Linked DNA regions of Homo sapiens: all the other regions are linked to region 1. Evidence: promoter capture Hi-C in 16 types of primary human blood cells and fetal thymus (Javierre and others, 2016). All regions are on one chromosome and are shown on one strand. The core of a region is centred on a gene start or on the middle of the fragment in contact, and the rest is flanking DNA. Distances in the headings are between cores, read along the strand shown.

Region 1 (4,378 bases), core at 1,879-4,378:
TAATTTTATGCCAGAGTATGACTGAAAAGGCAGTCACAATATATAGTGTTAAATAAAACCCAACTGATAAGAATTTATGGTTTGTAGGGCATGACTCCCCAGACCCTTTCGATAGGAATTTGAGCAAGATAAGAAAAAATCAGAGCTTAGTCCTCATTAGGAACTGCCTCTTCTTCTCCTTTAAAAACCCACTTGTGACTTCTGCTAATTGGGAGCATATACTCAGGGCAACTTGAATCTTCGCTTCACAGTCTTCAAACTTGGCCCAAATAAACTCTCTACTTATATCAAGTTTGCCTTAGATTTTTCCCTTTAGGTTGACATTTCCCAGAAGTTTTAATCAGATGAAGAAAGCTCCCAGAAGGTTTATTTCTGCATCTATTGAATCTGAAATGTCTTCGGCTTAAAATAATTGTTATACCAACTCTGGTGTTCTGAATGGGTCCCCACACAGCAAAGAATAGAGCCAGAATGTTGCATTTGTGAAAGGAAAATAAAAACTCAGGACTCCAGTTGACTATGCCAAAAGGAAAAAAAATAAACTGAAAACTGAGTCATGCAAGAAGCTGCCTTTCCTTTTGTTCCTAAGCAGATAGCTACAGACAAAAGGTTAAATATTTACAAAATTAGCCGGGTGTGGTGGCACATGCCTGTAATCCCAGCTACTCAGTAGGCTGAGGCAGGAGAATCACTTGAACCCGGGAGGCAGAGGTTGTGGTGAGCCGAGATTGCGCCATTGCACTCCAGCCTGGTCAACAACAGCGAAAACTCTGTCTCAAAAAAAAAAAAACAAAAAAAACACAAAAGGTTAAATATCTCCACAGGCATATTTACTTTATCTTATGTAAAGTGCCAGACGAACACATAATTGAGTATCTCCCTACCTGCTCCTTTTCTCTTGCGACATGTGGATTACCATACCCTTCTTCTTTCCCTCCAGCTCACTTTTCCCCTTTAAATATTGAAGCCCTCAAAATCATCTTTGGAGAAAGCCACAGACCACAGACTGTTTCTGCGATTCCGTGTTTATTTCTTCCAGCCATGTCCTTAACCTTGGCAAAATAAACCTCTAAATTGATTGAGACCTGTCTCAGACATGTTTTGCTTGACACATCCAAATTCCAGTTCCAGCACTTACTAGCTAGCTGTGGGATCTTGAGCCACTTACTTAATCCTACTTTCCTTCTCCGTAAAATGGGGATAATTATAATACCGACTTCCAAATTTGTTGTGAGGATTAACGTAAGGCAGAGTCCTCAGAAAAGTACCTACAGAGGGTTATTCGGGCCAAGGGCCAAGGTTGAGGACTGCGACCCAGGACACACTTGCAAGTTGTCTTGGGGGAGCACTCTGGACAACAAAAGAGAGGCTCATATTTTCAAAGAAAAAAAGATGAATTAGGAGAGGAAATGAATACAAAAGTTGTTCATCAGGAATTCTCATTGTTTACAGAAATAACACTGGTTATACATTGTTTAGCGCTTGGCTATACATTGTTGAACTATAAGGTGTATGGCATTTAATGGCTACTTGGCATAGCAAGTGGTTTCAAGAGATAATTACTTAGCTCAAAGAAGAGTGAGAGTGACTGTTGCTACATTTTAAATGCCTGTCTGGGCCTGATAATTTAAAGGGGCTCATCTTCCTTAGATAAAAAGGTTTTGTTTTGTTTTGTTTTTCATAGTACATAATCTTAAAAATGCATGCTAATTATTACTGTGAGTACTCTATCTGAGATGATGTCCCCAGAACTGGGGGGAAAAAACACTTGTAAAAAATTATCAAAGGAAAGAACTGACAGGACTTGATAGCTCTGAGGATTCCTCAGAAGCACTCGTCAAACAGCTTAGGGTTTAATTGCTATTCTGCCACTTAACTTCTTTGTGCCTCATCCTATCTGTAAAGGAGGGTAATAATAGTATTTGCAGGGACCAAGGGAAACTTTCCCTTCGCCCTCTGAAATTCTGCTGAAAAATCAACCCACAAAAAACAGATTAATTGAAGAAAAGGCATAGAAATTGTATTAATGTGTCCACGGGGAACCACAGAGTGACTACCCACTTCCCAGACGAGTTCAGAAGCTTAGGTGTCATTCAGGCAAAGGGGGTTGTGGGAGTGAGGGGAAGAGGAATTCTGCTGAGGGAGAAGGAATGGATCAGGGAACAGATTAACTAGCACATTATCATGTGAAGGGGTCTGTTCAGGTGTGATTATATTCTTGGTTTTGTAGGGAGGGGAAGAAAAAAACCGTTGTTCCTTTTGATGGGTCTGGACGCTAGGTAACGGCTTTGGGAGAGAGGGCGCGGGAGTAGGAAGGCCAGACACACCTTAAGGCTTAACTTAGTAAGTCAAACCACCATATTTTGGGTATGGATTTCTGAGCCCCAATATAATAGGTACTTCTTAGGGTTGTTGTGAGAATTGAAGATTATTAATTATAAAGTGCCTGGGTTGGTGCTTGGCACATCATAAACAACTCCATAAATGCTCGCTTTTACTGTCGTGGATACACGGAGGTGGGAGACCCAATTGGGTTCCCGCCCATGTTATTGGCCCCCACGGCTATATGGTCTTTACGGCTTCCTAGTCTCTTCACCATCTCTAAGGTTTGTTTCCTCATCTGAATCACAGGTGAGTGATTCTCAGGGTGACTCAAGAGGGCTGGTGCCAGTGGCAGAGCATGGGGAATCGAGGGAAGGCGCCTTCCTGTCAGAGGCAACACACCCAGTGGGAGGATCCTGCCCGCCCTGCTCTCTCCTACCTCCCCTTCCCGGGCTAAACGCTGGGGTCGGTCTGGCAGCTATTCCGGGAATCTGAGCGCGGATTCTGACAAAGGAGACGTCTTCCACCGACCACATCACATGGAGCTCCAAAGCACGAGCACGGCCTCCCGCGGCTGTGACCTCAAGGCGGAGCCCCTGGTGACCTCAGGGAGAGTCCCCACCCCCGCAGCCCGTGCGCCCGGGGCAGGGCGGGGGCAGGGAGAGGGGGCGGAATCGGGGCGGTCCCGGGAGCGCCCCGCCCCCTCCGCCTCCGCAGCGTTGACAGCCGCCCGCCACCGAGAGATCAGCTGTCAGAGATCAGAGGAAGAGGAAGGGGCGGAGCTGCTTTGCGGCCGGCCGCGGAGCAGTCAGCCGACTACAGAGAAGGGTAATCGGGTGTCCCCGGCGCCGCCCGGGGCCCTGAGGGCTGGCTAGGGTCCAGGCCGGGGGGGACGGGACAGACGAACCAGCCCCGTGTAGGAAGCGCGACAATGCCCCGCTACGGAGCGTCACTCCGCCAGAGCTGCCCCAGGTCCGGCCGGGAGCAGGGACAAGACGGGACCGCCGGAGCCCCCGGACTCCTTTGGATGGGCCTGGTGCTGGCGCTGGCGCTGGCGCTGGCGCTGGCGCTGGCTCTGTCTGACTCTCGGGTTCTCTGGGCTCCGGCAGAGGCTCACCCTCTTTCTCCCCAAGGCCATCCTGCCAGGTTACATCGCATAGTGCCCCGGCTCCGAGATGTCTTTGGGTGGGGGAACCTCACCTGCCCAATCTGCAAAGGTCTATTCACCGCCATCAACCTCGGGCTGAAGGTGAGCACTGAAGGGGCTGCAGTGGAGGAGGCCGAAAGGAGTGCTGGGGCTGGGGGCTGGGGCTGATGCTGGTGCGCTGGGCTCAGAATGCATCCCTGATGGAGAGGGTGGCATCTACAATCCATCACTGAGTTTGCTCCCCTTTGGGGACACCCATGGCTACATGCCACCATCACCCCATTGTGACCTTTGTGAAGTAAGAAAATAATGCAGACAGTGCCTGAGGAAGTCAGCTTGCCAAGCAAAGGCCTCATGCCACAGGCCGCTGAGCTAAAGAAGAAGCGATGGCCTGGTGCTGCCTGAGTTACAGGGCAATATCTGGAAGGCAAAGGTGTGCACTGAGCTTGGTGCACTGAGTCCTGCCCAGCCCCAGTTTGGAAATGGAGGCCCAAGGGGTGGTGGCCAGGGGTTGGCCTGGTTCCTCTGCTCTGCCTCTGATTTCTCACCATGCGCTCCTCCCACTGCAGAAGGAACCCAATGTGGCTCGCGTGGGCTCCGTGGCCATCAAGCTGTGCAATCTGCTGAAGATAGCACCACCTGCCGTGTGCCAATCCATTGTCCACCTCTTTGAGGATGACATGGTGGAGGTGTGGAGACGCTCAGTGCTGAGCCCATCTGAGGCCTGTGGCCTGCTCCTGGGCTCCACCTGTGGGCACTGGGACATTTTCTCATCTTGGAACATCTCTTTGCCTACTGTGCCGAAGCCGCCCCCCAAACCCCCTAGCCCCCCAGCCCCAGGTGCCCCTGTCAGCCGCATCCTCTTCCTCACTGACCTGCACTGGGATCATGACTACCTGGAGGGCACGG
Region 2 (4,575 bases), core at 1,731-4,230, 1.1 Mb after region 1:
AATGCTAAACTGGGTGGGGACTGGGGAAGATCAGGATCAGGCACATTGGGATGTGTGGTTTCAAATTCAGTGTTCAAAACTCCAAATTCTATGAGCAATGGGGGCAGAAAAGGGAAGGGGTGGGGTGGGAGAGTGGATTGGCCTGAGGGGGTGGAGATCGATTTGGGATAGGAATAGCAGATTCTTCTAATTCAACATTTCACCAAGGCAGAGGAATAGTTCTTGACTCTGACACCTGACCTTGACTGGATGTCATGAAAAAGTTTCATTACATAAGCTCTTCCTGCGACCAACCAGCCAAGACATCTGGTTCTTGGATGCATGTGCTCACCTGGTAACAACAACAGCCTTGTGTGTCTGTCTGGGTTTTCACTGTGCCTGCTCACTGGTGCGGCACAATGCCCCGGGCAGGGATTATTGTTCTGCTTGTGGAAATGAGGAAGCTGACTCCTCTTGCCTGTCCTGCCCCCTCATTCTATCATGGCAGGCAGGAGGTTTTCTCCAGCATGAGGACTTGGCCTCCCTAACTCCTGTGGGCCCTGGTAGCTCTAGAGTGGAGGGTTTGAATCAGACAGTCCTCGATTAAAATAGCTCTACACCAATTCGCTATTGCTCCGTACCTCTTTGAGCTTTACATTCCTCATCTGTTTAATGGGAACAATAATAGGCCAATTCATTTGGTGGTTGTGAAAATTAAATGAGATGAAATGTTGACTCCAGTGCTTGGCACATCATAGGTAGTCAGTAAATCCTTTTATTCCCGTCTCAGGAAGCTTGAGAGAAATCATTTATCAAGAGATATTTAGATCATCCAGAGGGCTTATCCTGAAATTTCAGGTGGGAAGTTGCATGCTCTGGGCTTCCAGGTATGACACAGAAAGGGCAACCATGGTGGCGGTGAGCAGAAATTCCAGGAGGCAGAAGTCCATGACAAGGTAGAGAACAGCCCGGAATCAGGTGGCTGGTCACCCACGTACAGGACAAAAGCAGCAAACAGCGCAGAGTCCAAACCAGCTGGATGAGATGTGGCAGGGTTAAGTGCAAAGTCCTGCCCTTAGGCCCTGAAAATCAATTGTGTGAGTGTCCTACCCATCTATGTGGAAAAGCCCAATACATTGGCTTAGCCTGGCTACATTAATTGAAGTCCTGGGTTTAGACCTTGGTAGAGGATCTTTTCCCTGCATTGGCTGAGACTGGCCACACCTGGAGTGTGCAAAGCCGGTATCCCTGTCTTACAAGCTTTGGAGGGGCCCAAGGACAGTCAGGAAGATATAGGGGAATGACTGCTATTTTCAGGTGGGCAAGGTGGGCAGCATGTTCTTTGTTGCTCAGAGGGCAGAGATGAAGGCCTATGGTAGTGATGTCAAAGAAAACTAAAGACGGAGCAGATTCTACTTTGACATAATGTAAGAAATTTTAAAGAACTCAGGCTTGTCTCTAGGGCCAAACCGCTGTTTTAGAGCAGATATTGGAGTCTACCTGCAAAGGGTATTGTTCAAGCAGTATTGACTAGAGAGGAGTTTATGAAATAACAGGGAGGAAGGTATACTGAAAGGTTATAGATCTAACTAAAGTGCTGTAAGATTTTGGCAAAGGGAAGGCTTTGTGGATCAACCAACTGGGGTGGGATCCTGGGGAGCTGGGAAGAAAAGGCTCTCTGGGGATCCCTGGTCAGTCAAGTGAGTAAAAGGCATAGAAGCCCAAGTGAGTGAAGTGGGATCGAGAAATAATAAGGAAACCAGCTTAGCTAGACTCTTCCCATTATTAAAAGTCAAAGAAAGAAGTTGGGACTCTAAGGGAAAAGGAACTTGAATGCCAAACTAAGAAGCTGGACTTTACCCTGTCGGTAGTGGGGAATAATTGGTGGCTTCTGAGCAGAAATGACTTGCAGCAGATGTAGGCTGGAGTGAGGGTGGGAGGCTGGGGAAAGAGCAGCCTTAAAGCTGTGCAGAAGCGGCCGGGTGCGGTGGCTCACGCCTGTAATCCCAGCACTTTGGGAGGCCGAGGGTGGGCAGATCACGAGGTCAGGAGATTGAGACCATCCTGGCTAACACGGTGAAACCCCATCTCTACTAAAATACAAAAAATTAGCCCGGCGTGACTATGCGGAAGCTTCTCTATCCCAAGTCGCAGGCTGAACATCCCACTTAGTGACAAGGGCTGGGAGAGGGGAAAGGCTCTGAGCAAATGTCTTTGTGGGCTGAAAATGAGACTATGATCCCAAGAAGTGACTGGACTGTGTATATTCTTTGCTGATGCCTACCTTGGCCCAACCATCTGAAAGCTGTTTTAGACTCACTTGCCACCCCTTGAAGATTTTGAGAACACACCATCCTGAGACCTGGAGAACCAGGGTATGTGGTGTGAGACAGCTGGGTTCACAGCATCCTAGAGGGCATAGCAGGTATAGAAGGGAGTGATCCAGGAGGACACTGGTCACAAGAATGTCCTCCTGGATCACTCCCTTCTATACCTACCATACCCTAGGAAGTCTGACTGTCTGCACCTTGGGCCATAGAGTGAGCAAGGTTCCATCCCTGGGAGGGGAGGCAAGGAAGGGATGTGGGTACCAGGGCCTCATTCAAGTAGGCTGAGGTTTTGGGTGGGGTGTGGTGTATGGGAGGAGAGAGTTGCTGTGGTTAGGCAACGTGGATGTCTGAGCAGTGTGATATCTTGGTCTGGGTGGCAGGGAAGGAGTCTGGCAAGAATGGTAGGAAGAGTGGCCATGGAACCCCAAGGTCAGAACTGGCCCATTGGATCTGGGGAAACCTACCCTTTAGCAGCAGAGGTAGAGCATACTTCTCAGGTACTGTGGAATCAGTAGGATTGTGACAGTATTTATTATTTCAGCCTCTAAATAATTTTTGAACCATTGTCTATGCTGAGAATGGTGATGATGGGACCACAAGATGAACAGACATGTCCCCTGACTGAATGGAACTTAAGAAATGTACCCCCTTACTCAAACAGATAGTAGTAACTGCTGAGAAAATACAGTTAATATTCAGAGAAAGATGTTGGGGGGGCCTGGCTTGCTGAGGAGGTGGCATTTGAGGTGTGTCCTGAAGGAAAGACAGGGACCAGAGTTGCCCGTTTCTATGGGGCTGAAGGGAATTGCTGGCAGAGGGAACAGCAGTGCACAAAGGAAGGCATGAGTAATGCCAATTAAGGGGCACCTGTGGAAAACAACTGGCGGCATGATTTGGCTGGAACTGAAGAGTAAACGAAGTTAAATAGGGCACCAGGGATTGGAAATTACCGTCTATGAAGTACCCATCATGCATCAGGCATTGAGCACAGAGTCTGTGCTCACTTAAATTTCAAAGCAGCCTTTCAGGGCTTTAACTGAGGAGGAAATGGGCTTCAAGAAGATACCTGATCATCTCAAGTTTCCCTAGGTGGTGAGTGGCCAAAATAAAATTGATGTCCAGGCTGCCTGACCCCAAACTCTGTTCTTTCCACTTAATCTTGCCACTATGTTTAGAGTCCAGATTATGCAGTCTTAAATTTACAGTGAAGACCTGTTCTTACCGTATTTAGGCAGGAAGATGGTCAGATGGCACATGGCAAACCACATTAACCTTTGAGAGGCACTTAGTGGACATGGCCAGATAGTCACAAAGCATATCTGAGTTCTAATACATATATATGCATGCATACACATATATATTTAGGAAGTTAATCTCTAACTTCCTAAATGCAGTTTTCACATTACAATAGAAACTGTTACTCCCAGACCACTATAGGCAATTTCTGAATTGCTGGCTGAATTCCAGTATTTTCTCATCCCTTCAATAAAGTATATTAGAATGGGGCAAGATAAGCCTGAATCTTCTCTAATTTATACAAAAAGCTTCTATCATTAGTAACAAGTTACCTACAACCAACCTTACCTGTTTAGGATACCAAGGTGTCAGCCCTAAGAGATGTTTAGCAAGAGTGGTACTCCAAGAGGTTTGGAAGCGTGGGATGAGGGTAAGAGTCAGAGAAATGTGGGCAGTAACCCAGGTGGGGCTGTAGGGGTTGAGAGGAGGGACCGATACAGTTCAGTAAGCATTTGCTGAGAGCCTGCCCATGCAGGGGTGTAGAGTGGGTGCTGGGATACCTGCATGAAAGGACAACATTGTTTTCACAGATCACATGTTCAAGCTCTGAGCAGGTGGGTGTTGGTGAGGACTGCCTGCTCAAGTTGGGGTTCTTATGCGTATATCTAGTACAGTCAGCCAGTCTTTGTTGCTGAGCAGGTCTGCCCAGGGCCCAGTTCTCCATCCAGTTTGGCCTTCCTCCTGGAGCTCAGAACTCAGATCTAGCCCTGGTGGCCACGCCTTGCTTCTGTCCTCAGGGTGGACCCAGGGTCCTTCAGACTTCCTAATGGGAGGCTTTTCCTCAGCCTGGAGAGAAAAGTTGAGACCACCTGCGAGGCAATAGTAACCACTGAGAAGACAGAGGAAATATTCAGAGGAAGAAGTTGGGGGAGCATCTGGGCTGCAGTGACGCAGGATTTCATGTTAACAGGAGACAATGTGGGAGGAAGCTCTACCTCCTTGTCCTACCACTTAATAAGGTACACTGTGA
Region 3 (4,676 bases), core at 287-2,786, 1.2 Mb after region 1:
CCAGTCCTGGTGCGTGTGCGTGCATGTATGTGCGTGTGTGTGTGTGTGTGTGTGTGTGTGTGTGTTTGTTGGGGTGGTCGGGGAGGACACTGAAGCAGCACGGTCTGCTCTGTGTCGCTGTGTGTCTGAAACTGTCTAGGGAGAGGCTGAAGGACGCAGGCCAGGGAAGTGGGGAAATTTGAACACAGCTTGGAGTTCTTGAGGGGGGAGGGGGCAGAGGCAAGGAAGAGGAGAGAACTGGTCTCCAGCCAGGAAAAGGGCTTTTTCCACCAAGGCATCTAACTGCTGACATGGGTGCCCAGCATGGATGGGGACATTGATGTTTACAAGCATTTCTCGTGGCTGAAGAGGGTAAGTGACTGGCTGCTTTGTCTGGGTCTCCGTGGAGATAAGTGAGGGGGAGACGCTTTGGGGTGTTTTGGGGTGTGTGTGCCTGTGTGTGGTAGGGGGAGGTATTGTCCAGCAAAGCCCTGCTGTGGCCAAGTTCTTCATGAGAATCTAATTATAGACACCAGGGAGAAAACAGTCAGCTGTCTTTGTTTCTCCACTGACATTCTAGTGAATGAGCCTCTGTACAGAAAGGCAAGAATGGAGTGAGGAAAGTTGGTTATTTTAACTTTGGCACCTAAACAGTCAGAGGCTCCAAACACCGTGACCAGAAGAATGTGCCCACCGCTTTTCAGTTTGAGGACACAGGGAGGAAGCTGCTGCCTTTTTAAATGCATTGGATTCGGAAGTTGTTTAACTCGTTCTCACTCTGATGTTATCCGGTGGAGCACACATCTGCTGTCAGCAGAATGAGCTTCTGCATTTCCGGAGGAAAGCTTTCAGGGAGTTCTCTTTGAATGCTCTGAAGCTGAGGGTTTATGTTGCAAGTTGTTCATGCCCTTTCTTTAGAGGATAAACCTGAGTGTGTGGTATGAGCAAGGAATGAACGGACGTTGGGGGCTGGAGTAGCATCATACTCCTAGAATTCAGGCTGTTTCCTCTTTTGTGGCTGCCTTTAAATTGGCTAAGATAGGTATGAATTTATTTTCACACGAAGGGATTTTAGGCTGAGTGTTTTTCAGAGGCAGGAAGGGCAAAAGCAGCTGACAGGTTAGAGATTTGACATTGTAACTGCAGAAGGACAGAAGAACCAGGAAGTGTCCAGCTTGGAAGGGGCATGCAGATGCCCGGACCCCGACTCCCGGACACTGAGCTGGCTGGCTTTTGTGTGAGTGCAGCAGCACTCATTCAGCAAATCTGTACTGAGTTTGGGTACTGGGTGTATAGTAGTGAGCAAAATAGAACCAGCCTCTTGTGGATCTTCTACCTAATACTGGAGATGTAGGTGAAACAGTCCCAGGAAATAAACCTCAGATTACAAACAATAAGTGTGCCTGGAGGAAGAACAGAAGACACGGGACTGCTGTTTTGATGGAGAAGGGGGTTGGGGCGGTCAGGGAGTTTGAGGAAATTATACTTCGCTGAAAACTGAAAGAGCAGTAAGAATGAGTCAGGTGAAGAATGGGGTGAAGAACATTCCAGGCAAATGGGGCATAGGGGATGATGTATATACAAAGGTCCTAAAGCAAGATGGAGTCTGCTGATTGTCCAGATTGAGAGAGAGCCCATGTGGCTGAGCACAGTGATGGCAGACAGAGGCGGGCAGAGGCTGGGATCACGCAGGACAGTGAAGGCCACGGTAAGGCTTTTGGGCAACCTGGTTTGTGTGCTGGGGGACTTGTAGCAGGGAAGTGACATGGGATACATTGGGGGGGGTCTAGTTTGTATTTTAAGAAAATTACTCTAGCTGTGATGTGGTATATGGTAAGCTATGTTGGGAAAAGTGAGGCAACTGAACACAATTATAGGGCTGGAGGGCTTGGAGGGATGGGATAGTACAAACCCCTCATTTAACAAAGCCCAAGAGGGGCTAAGAACCTCATGGTATTAGTGTCATAGCTATTAGTGGTGCAGCCTGGTCTTGAACCCTGTTCTCTATCTCCCAGTCTAGTTCTCTTTATTCATTTTCTCTGCCAAATATGTATAAAATTATTGCTTTAGAACCCAGCAGAAATCCTGTCTGTGCCCAGCCCCTAGGGCATCACAGTCACCAGAAAGCATGCTGAGATGACCAGACGTTTTGGCAAAGGTTTGCATCATCTTAGGTTTTTTTTTTAAGCCCCACTGGGGAGATACTGAAAGGAAATATGTAAGAAATGCACTGACCATCACTTGGTCCTTCTTTCCCTGTATCCCAAATGAAGCTTTTAATCAAGAAATCCTTTCAGCCAACATGTGCCTGGGATTGTCAGAGCCTTGTCCCAGCCCCTGGGGCAGATACTGTAACTCTGCCTGCTACAGGAGAAGTTATGTGTGTGGAGGAACTAATTTTGCATGTGATGCAATGTAAGAAGGCCCTTCTTGTCCCAAGACCCAGGGTATGCTGGCTCCTGTGGACAGTTGGAAGTTTGCTTAGGGAAACTTTAAGCAAGGAGACTTTAGAAACCCCCAGGATGACTCATAGCAAAACAGATATTTTTCTTCTACTTTTAGAATTTTAAAGAGCATTTTACAAAAGCAAAACTCAAAGTGTAGACATGTCATTGGCAGTGTGATAAGAGTATTTTCACTATTCTCTACCCTAAACACTACTGCCAGATTTTTAAAATCTTCTTAAAAAAAAAAACAAAAAAAACAAATTCCCTTTCGTCCTGTGACCCCAGTGATGAGCCCCCCTGGACTCACCCTTAATCTGGAAGAAAAATCAGGCCCTTCGGCTTGCTTGGCCTTTGAGACCATTAGCAGCCCAACCTCAACTTACCTTTTTAGTTTTATCTTTTATATCTACCCTGATGAGCTCCCAAGTGTATTTCTTCCCTTTTCTGAGCTTTTACCACAGATGACCACCTCCTCTCTAACTCTCATCCACTTCAACTGACTCCATCCAGGCTGTCTTTTCCCAGGAAACCTCTGCTGGCCCTCCCTCCCCACCTCCTGTAGCCCAGGTCTGCAGCACTTCCCATCTGCATGGCTCACCCACCCTTTCTCCTGTGCTTCAGCTGAGGTGGTGTGGAGAGCTGGTTTCTCTGAACTCATGCTTTTGAAGGTAGAAACACTATCGTCTTCATTCTCCTTTACAGAGGGCATAGATTCTGGAAGAAGAGGTTCCTGGTGCCAGAGCAGGAGCCCTTGCCCTTTGAGCAGTCCAAGGTGGTGGTGTCTCAGGGCAAAGGGGAGATACTTATGTTCAGAGAGGCATGGAGCTGGAGGGGAAATATTTGCTCAGAAAAGAAATCTTGCTCCAGGGCCTGTGTGGGATGGGATAGTATATACTATTAATATTACAGTTAAGAACATGGAGTCTGGAGTGAGGCCTGAATTAGAATCCTGGCATTGCCACGTTTACCAGCTGTGTGATCCAAGGTAAATTATCTCAAAAGTCTGGATTTCTTTAACTATAAAATAAGGGAGATAATAGTACCTACCACATACAGGCTTTATGAGGACTCAGTAAGATAGTACGATTAGTGCAGTATCATGCATGTAGGAAATACTCAATAACATGCTTGCTATTAACTGCTATTGGTGATTATCAGGAAGGGAGAAGTTGAAAGAGGAACAGATGGAACCAGGTTCTCTCCTAGAATTGCCTCTCAGGCCATTCAGTGCTTCAGCTTTATGACCCTTCCCATACTCCAGATCAAGGTCTCAAACCAAGCATATTGAAGACCTAGAAAAGGCAGCTGCAACCTGGGCCACCATAGGTGACCAGAGGCCTCATTGGCTGCTGGATCTGGCCAGCTTGGCTGTGGTTGCTGAGTGAAGGCTGATCAGGGCTGATGCTCTAGTTCATTCTCCTAACAGACAAAGCCTAGGGATAAGGTAGTCTCTTGCCACAAGTATCCAGAGGGACTCAGTCACAAACAGCTCACACCTGTTCTACATTGAGTCCAGTGGATCCAACCCACACAACCATGAACACACCTCTAAAAATAGCTCCGAGCAGGGTCTGTGGGACCCACCCACTGCTCTTTCGGCAAGAGTTCATTTTCCCAGGAACAGAAATCCCAGACTGTCAGCATCTTCACACTGCTTCCTGGCTTCCAGCACTCTCAGTGCTTAAGCAAATTCCAACTGTAGGTCACAAAGAAAATGGAATCACTACAGGTCCCCCATGCAGTTGGCTCAGGTTCTGCAGTAAAAAGTGGAATTAACTCAAGCTGCTAATGTGAGACTTTATTCTGTGTCATCTGGTGCTCAAATGGTTGATCTAGTAGCCTGGCCACTTGGGCCAGAAGAGCTGCAAAGGCAGACACGGAGGTCTCCTCACTCCAGACACTGACTTGCCTTGCATTCATGTTGGACTGCAGTGAAAGTTACAGAAATAGGCAGCAGCTTCTGTGAAGGCTGTTCCTACTAGTTAAGAGCATGGATCCTGGATCTAGATTCCTTGGGCTCATATCTCACCTCTGTGTAGACTTGGGCAATTTATTTAACCTTCCTAGAATTCAATTTCCTTGATTATATATATGGATAAACAATTCTATAGATAGATAGATAGATAGATTTTTTTTTTTTTGAGACAGAGTCTAGGTCTGTCACCCAGGCTGGAGTGCAGTGGCACAATCTTGGCTCACTTCAACCTCCTTCTCCTAGCTTCAAGCGATTCTCCTGCCTCAGCCTCCCGA

What was found. Contacts are between HindIII fragments. The CHiCAGO score rates a contact against its expected background, and 5 or more counts as called.
Region 2: a fragment that was not itself captured here is called in contact with the fragment with the promoter of SMPD1 in region 1 in 1 of 17 cell types (total CD4 T cells); the score reaches 5.1 in total CD4 T cells.
Region 3: a fragment that was not itself captured here is called in contact with the fragment with the promoter of SMPD1 in region 1 in 1 of 17 cell types (M0 macrophages); the score reaches 5.9 in M0 macrophages.

Annotation. Positions count from the first base shown.
Region 1 is chr11:6,387,346-6,391,723 of GRCh38, forward strand. SMPD1 (sphingomyelin phosphodiesterase 1) reads left to right here and starts at 3,129. Exons shown (of 6, transcript NM_000543.5): 1 at 3,129-3,571; 2 at 4,039-4,378. The coding sequence starts at 3,254. LOC124902624 (a long non-coding RNA gene) reads right to left here and starts at 3,011. Exons shown (of 2, transcript XR_007062573.1): 1 at 2,762-3,011. RefSeq lists a silencer at 2,846-3,345. The HindIII fragment of the contact is 7,977 bases long and covers 2,080-4,378 here.
Region 2 is chr11:7,524,635-7,529,209 of GRCh38, forward strand. The region is part of intron 1 of PPFIBP2 (PPFIB scaffold protein 2); the gene reads left to right. All of the region lies in intron 1 of LOC124902806 (leucine-rich repeat extensin-like protein 5), which reads right to left. Among named protein-coding and RNA genes, the nearest start is that of PPFIBP2, 13 kb to the left of the region's middle. RefSeq lists an enhancer at 4,257-4,306. The HindIII fragment of the contact is 1,741 bases long and covers 2,111-3,851 here.
Region 3 is chr11:7,577,288-7,581,963 of GRCh38, forward strand. All of the region lies in intron 3 of PPFIBP2 (PPFIB scaffold protein 2), which reads left to right. LOC105376535 (a long non-coding RNA gene) reads right to left here. Exons shown (of 4, transcript XR_007062579.1): 3 at 3,973-4,122. Among named protein-coding and RNA genes, the nearest start is that of PPFIBP2, 66 kb to the left of the region's middle. RefSeq lists a silencer at 651-885 and an enhancer at 956-1,035. The HindIII fragment of the contact is 1,428 bases long and covers 823-2,250 here.